Linked DNA regions of Homo sapiens: region 2 is linked to region 1. Evidence: promoter capture Hi-C in 16 types of primary human blood cells and fetal thymus (Javierre and others, 2016). All regions are on one chromosome and are shown on one strand. The core of a region is centred on a gene start or on the middle of the fragment in contact, and the rest is flanking DNA. Distances in the headings are between cores, read along the strand shown. Region 1 holds the start of CCDC150 (coiled-coil domain containing 150). Region 2 has its middle 10 kb from the start of MARS2.

What was found. The method cuts DNA at HindIII sites, captures the fragments that hold promoters and counts their contacts. A CHiCAGO score of 5 or more calls a contact.
Region 2: a contact is called between a fragment that was not itself captured here and the fragment with the promoter of CCDC150 in region 1, in 1 of 17 cell types (total B cells). The highest score is 5.2, in total B cells.

Annotation. Positions count from the first base shown.
Region 1 is chr2:196,637,856-196,641,241 of GRCh38, reverse strand. CCDC150 (coiled-coil domain containing 150) reads right to left here and starts at 1,527. Exons shown (of 28, transcript NM_001080539.2): 1 at 1,464-1,527. The coding sequence starts at 1,475. LOC105373823 (a long non-coding RNA gene) reads left to right here and starts at 1,557. Exons shown (of 2, transcript XR_923747.3): 1 at 1,557-1,846; 2 at 2,675-2,814. RefSeq lists enhancers at 666-1,203, 1,204-1,741, 1,726-1,775, 1,796-2,015. The HindIII fragment of the contact is 4,677 bases long and covers 1-2,734 here.
Region 2 is chr2:197,713,722-197,717,107 of GRCh38, reverse strand. No RefSeq gene overlaps it. Among named protein-coding and RNA genes, the nearest start is that of MARS2, 10 kb to the right of the region's middle. The HindIII fragment of the contact is 6,138 bases long and covers 1-3,386 here.

The DNA.
Region 1 (3,386 bases), core at 278-2,777:
ACTTTGGAAGGCCGAGGCGGGCAGATCAAGAGGTCAGGAGATCGAGACCATCCTGGCTAACACGGCGAAACCCCGTCTCACTAAAAATACAAAAATAAAAATAAAAAAAAAATTAGCCGGGCGTGGTGGCGTGCTCCTGTAGTTTCAGCTACTCGGATGGCTGAGGCAGGAGAATGGTGTGAACCCAGGAGGCGGAGCTTGCAGTGAGCTGAGACTGCTGCACTCCAGCCTGGGCGACAGAGCGAGACTCCGTTTCAAAAAAACAAAAAACAGAATACACAGAGCCTTGAAGGCCATTGTAGAAGTCTGGCTTTTGCTGTCAGTGATTCTCAGAGTCACTGGAGGTCTATAGCTGAGGAATGCTATCCAACTTTCCTTTTAACTGGATCATTTTGACTCCCTCCCACTCCAAATGGTGGAAGAACAAAAGCAGAAGTAGAGATGCTGCTGGCCAGAACCAAGGTGACAGCAGCGGTATTCCTACTGTAAGAAGTGGTTAGTGGTTAGATATACTTGAAAGATAGCTTTTGCTGATGCATTAGATATGAGATATGAGGGAAAGGAAGAAGCCAAGATTACTACAGGGTTTTTGGCCTGGATGGTGCTATCACTGAGACAATGCAAACTTATTAAGGAAGAATCCGTTTTGTGGAAAAGATAAAGAGTAGTTTTTAAAATGTCAAATTTAAAACATGAAAGATACCAAATACATTATTGAATTTGTGGATCTGAAGTTTGGGGGTGAGGTGTGGACTGGAGACTAATTTCTGAAGAGCTCAAGAAAACCATAAGGCGGGATAACAGAGAACACAAAGGATTAAAGGACCTAGTCCTGAGCACGCCAAGATTAACAAATTAGAAGCATGTGTTGGGGGGCATTTAAGACGGACTAATACGAACTTCTCTAAAGTGGGGTTAAAAATAGACATTTTTCTATCTTTAGAGCCTAATACAGTGCCTGGGAAATTATAGGTGGTAAATAAACAGGAGAATACTTCGACAGGAATTTAACGAATGTCTATTCCGTTCTAGCAAGAGCGCCAGGTACTGCGGAAACCGTAAAGAACAAGTGCAAATTCCTGACACCTATATTCTGGTAAGCAAGCCAGGGAGGATTAACTGGTGGCAAAAATCAAACATTAACGCCGAAATAGCCTTCCCAGGAACCTATTAAACTCCAACTTAACACATAAATAAAGGTGGTATTGGGCTTATCTGGAGGCTTCGGTGGCTATCTCCCATCCCTCAGCTGGAGCCAGGCCAATGCAAACTTCGCTCCTAAATGGCTTTCACCGGCAGCCAACGCCAAAGCGCCTTAAATCAGGGCCCTGAGGTCCAGGGAGTGAGACTGGACTCCGTCAGGACAGGGAGAGGGCGCCAGGGAGTGGTGACTGTCCTTATCTGAGCCGAAGCCTCGCGAGCCTCCGACCACCCCTCACCAGCCCGGGGCCCGGCAGCCTCACCTTACAGTCCATCTGTCCGCCTGAGGCTCCGTACTGCAGCAGGCGAGCGGGTTTCCGTGGAACTAACACAGCATTTTAAACCAACCCGCTCCCCGGCGCAGTAGCTCCGGTACGCAGGCGCACCCGTGGCAGGGCATGTCGGGAACTGTAGTTTTCCCGGCCCAGGAGGGCCCTCAGCCCTGGGCGGGACCCAGGCCGGCATCCGGCGGCGCTCAGGGAATGCGTAGCGCCGTGAACCGAATGGCGGCAGGCTCCACTGTGCTCGCGAGCGGGGCACGCCGGGATATGTAGTTTCCGGCGCCTGCCCTCCGGGGGGTCCTGTGCTGCCCACTTCACAGTGACTTGTCTCCGCCTGGTGAACTCGCGGTGTTCTGCTAATCTTGGTAAATACATACCCTACAGCAGAGTAACGAGCATAAAAATTGGTTAAAAATTCAGAGCTTAAACATTCTTCTCGTTAAAGGAAAAATCAAGTCCCTCTTCGTCCTCGTCCATGATGGCCACATGGAGAGTAAAACACAGAAATCTGTTTTCAGGTCTTTCGTCTCTTCAGCATAAATTATTTCTTGCCCTGTCTACAAGTTAATAGGTATTTGTAAATCTGAGTGTAAGTAGCTATGAAACGGAAAAGAGCATTGAGCTGTCCCTGGTTTTTTTGGTGGTTTGCTTTTTTGAGATAGGGTCTTCCTCTGTCGCCAAGGGTGGATTACGGTGGTGCGATCTCGACTCACTGCAGCCTCGACCTCCCGAGCTCAAGCGATCCTCCCATCTCAGCCTCCCCAGTATCTGGGACCACAGGCGCGCGCCACCACGTCTGGCTAATTTTTGTATTTTTTCGTGGAGGCGGGGTCATCACCATATTGCTCAGGCTGGTCTCTTTGGGCTCGAGCCATCCGCCCACCTCGGCCTCCCAAAGTCCTGGGATTACAGGCGTGCATCACCACACCAGCGTTTCTGAGTTGTTTTGCTTTAAGAATATGTATTCTCACTTAAGGGAAAGCCTTCTATAGTGCAAAGACGCGGCTTTGCGTTTTGGTAGCTGGACAGAACACCTGTTATCCCTGCCAGGGCAATTAAAATGCATTTCTCTCTTCTCCCTGAGAGTGCAGCCAAGAATCACTTCAGCCCTCTCATATAAGCAATCAGATCCGAGATGAGAGCTCATTTACTTAGCCTGACAATTGATCTTGCTATTCTAATTCTTTTCATAGCGGAGCCTCAATGTGAGATGCAGAGACTGCCCATCAAACCACAGCCATATTCATCAAGCTTTGAGCCGATCCGGTGAAGAGAAATGAGCACTGCATACATTATTCAGAGAAAGGGACCAAATAAAGCTTTTAATAGGAAATGAAAATGTATTTTAAAGCGTCAGTGCAAACAGCCAATTATTTTCATTATGTATGTTTTATCTTGCAATGACCTCTGGTTTATCAGTGGAATTAAGAGATGAGTGATACATGTATCCACGTGTTTTTGTGTAATGAGAGTTTTCACCTTCTCCTCAAATCTCCATATTAAGCAGCAGTCAGGGAACCAAACTGATTAAATTCGTGTTTTTCATTTGTTTTCCCTTATTCACTGTCTGGCAAACCGTATAAGAACTTAAGCAATTACAGAGTTAGAGAAAAGGACCTGAAGTCTTCAATAAACTTGAAATCAGGGAGTATAGTCCTCCAACTTTGTCCTTTTTCAAATTTGTTTTGGCTGTTCCTTTAACTTTCTAGTTCCTTTACCTTTCTCCCAAATTTTTTGAATCAACTTGTTGATACCTACAAAAATTCTGCCAGGATTTTGATTGAAATAATGCCAAACATACCGATTTTCTTGCTGATTTCCCTCTTGATTTTCAGTTGATAAATAGTTCTCAGACATTACCCCATTTATCAAACAAGATCATTTCATTCACGGAAATCCTAGATA
Region 2 (3,386 bases), core at 625-3,124, 1.1 Mb before region 1:
AGGATTACAGACATGAGCCACCGCGCCCAGCCAGTTATTTTTAAAATAACATGCTGTGTAGAACAACCCCAGTAGAGTGTTATTAGAGCCCTAGTCAAAATATCGTGAAACAATCTATTTCATATTCAGCTTGTCTGATGTTTTCAGCATACATGTTAATCCTATATTTATTATTCAGGCTTATTCAAGTGTACAACAAGGCATTTTTGTTCCACACCATCTGTAAATTTTAAGAGTCTGAGAGTCATTGTATATTAGTTCAAGAAAGATTGATATCGAAGTGTTTTTCTTAGCTATTTTAGGCAATTGGCTCTTTACCAAAATGTATTGATGTGCTTCCACATTACTTTCGTTCAGTTCTACAAATATTATATATTACTTTATTTCTCACTCCAAACTATAAAGTACAGAAGAACAGAGATGGTAGGAAAATTTATTAATGTATTCCCCCCAAAAAACTTACTCTGCTTAAATTGTGATATTTGGCTCTTATTTTGTAATATAACATATCCATGATAGCAAAAATACCTTTAATAACTACAAAAGATCAATGCTTTAACTTTTAATTATCAACATCATTTTTATAAATCATGGTATAAAAATGAATGAAGATACCGAGACTAAACTTTCATCTTTAACCTCATACAGCTGTGAAACAACACAATGATAGTATATAAACGTTTCATTACTATAAAAAGTATTGCCTAAAAAGCATACCTTTTTTTCCTTTGATGTTTTGGAGAAAACATCTAAAGGATGATAATTTTAAAGTATTCATTAACAATTTGAGATGATTTTAATACAATGTGTATTAATTGCTAATCACACTCAGGATCTTTGCTTTTAACATGTCTAATTTTGATACCAAAATAAAGCTACACAATATTCATTTATATATTTGTAGCAACACATAAAAGAAATTTCCTAAAATCCTTATTAGTATCTGAACTATTACGCATAGTATTTTAAAAGATACTAATACGTGTAAATTTTTCCTGCCCTATATAGGTACCCACATACTGACTTCAGTTAACCTGTTAGCATTATTTTATTCAGGCTATTTCCAACTGTCTGTGAGAATAGCTTTCAATTAAAGTAACATATTTAATATCCTAATGTTGTCTATTTCCTTATGTCTAAGGAAAAATGAACATAAATGCAGCAACAATCCTACGTTTACCAAATAGATTTTCATGCTTATGCCCTAGCTGTTTAGACAATTTGTTTAAAACTCTTGAGCTCAGACTCACCTACCTACCTTCACATACTGAATATTTAAACATCTGCCTCAACCAACTTACCAAGGATGAGTTTCGATAACTTGGTTTAACTTGGGTAGTCCCCTTCTCTCTACTCTGTGTTAAGCAATAAGATTTCACTATTTTTCCTATGTTTTTCTAACTGATATCATACTGATTTCAATTTTTACAATAGCTACACAGTTATACATTTATATTGGTTTTATGCCCCAGTGCTGATAGCTCCACTTTTAGATCATCTCCATGGATTATGGAAAAAGAAAGAAGTGCTACATATTCTCCTTAAGCTAAAAAACTAATTTTAGGACATCAGTTACAACCAAAAGTTTTATTTAAAATTTGTTATGAATTAACTACCTTCTAGAGGCTGATTTTTATGTACATAACATTTAAATAAGAAAAAACTTACTATTTTGAGGACTATTATTATTGTTTGTAGTAGGTCAAACAATATCACAATGAATGTTAAAAATATTTCCTTTATAGCCAAGCCAAAAAATACTTTTTTCAACTCTTAAAATGGCACGAAAATGCAATCATCAGCGTTCATGCAATTAACCATATATATTTTCAAAAATTTGCTTATGTTAGTACTTATAATTTTATTCTATAAATCAATAGGCTTCTCACACATTTTAACTTGATATAATGTTCCAGTAATTACTTATAAAATCAAACAGAACTCAGTACTGTTTTGCTTTTTATATAAAATATAGGATGTTTCTGTAAAATAAATTTTATAGAAATTTAAATGTAAAAAATTAATGCAGTAACTTCAATTTACCAAAATTGAAGACTCTTTACGAAAGCCTTTATAAGCCGGGAGCGGTGGCTCACACCTGTAATCCCAGCACTTTGGGAGGCCTTTCTTACCTTACGAGGTCAGGAGTTCAAGACCAGCCTGGCCAAGATGGTGAAACCCCGTCTCTACTAAAAATACAAAAATTAGCCAGGCACGGTGGCAGGTGGCTATAATCCCAGCTACTCAGGAGGCTGAGGCAGGAGAATTGCTTGAACTCGGGGGACAGAGGTTGCAGTGAGCCGAGATCACGCCACTGCACTCCAGCCTAGGCAGCAGAGTGAGACTTCACCTCAAAAAAAAAAAAAGAGAAAGCCTTTATAAATTCCTTAAGTGAGTTTTAAAGGTAATCTAAAATATGCTACCCAGGACATTTTGTATGATCTATCAATCTGATTCTGTCAAAAAGTCGTAACCTGCCATACCAAAAAAAAAAACTGAAAAAGCACCCATCATGCTTTGCTGTGGGACTATACTGCTTGCATTTAGACAGAATCCTGAAAAAAATTATTTAAACATGGAATAAAAATATAGGTCTTCCTGGCCTTCCAAGTTAGCAAGAACTTTAATGCCTTTTGATATTTTTTAAATACATTTTCGATGATAGCTAAGAGACCTATATAAAAATAAGATTCAACACATTTCTTCAAAGACACATCATGTCCAACAAAATAGCTACACTTCAGAAAAAATGTAAAATACAGCATTGTGTATTCATTATGCAATTCATAGTAAAGTCTCTTAGTTTGGGGGTATAAGAGCTTATCTCAACTGTGATATGAGGTGTTTAATTTACCAGGAATTATCCAATCTGTGGCATTTTAGCTAACAGGGTGGTATTTGCTTTGGTAATAACCACTGTCAAGGATATTTAATCTGGTTTCTGCAGGCTTGTTAGGAAAGATATAAGAATACAGTAATAAATGTTCGATAAATTCATAGAACTTAAATTGTTAATAAATGGATGTCATATTAATAAGTTCATTTGCATTAAAACTGTATGTATGAAAAAGTTTCAGTGTTTGTGGCCTCTAATAAAATTATCTGGCTTTGTCACTATAATAGTTAATTCAAATAAAACTTTTGAATGTTGATGTTTTCATGTTCAGAGATAAATGTATATTTAAATAATTAGTAAAATATCATTAAAAAATACTTAGATTCATGAATTTATGACTATATACTTTCACTTAGAGAACTGCTAGATTCTAGAAATTGGAACATCATTCTAAAATTAAGAAACAAAATAAGAAAACAAGGACAAACAAAAATAGGGACTATACAGTTATTTAAAATTTTAACAATTTGCACAGCACACATAAGCAGAT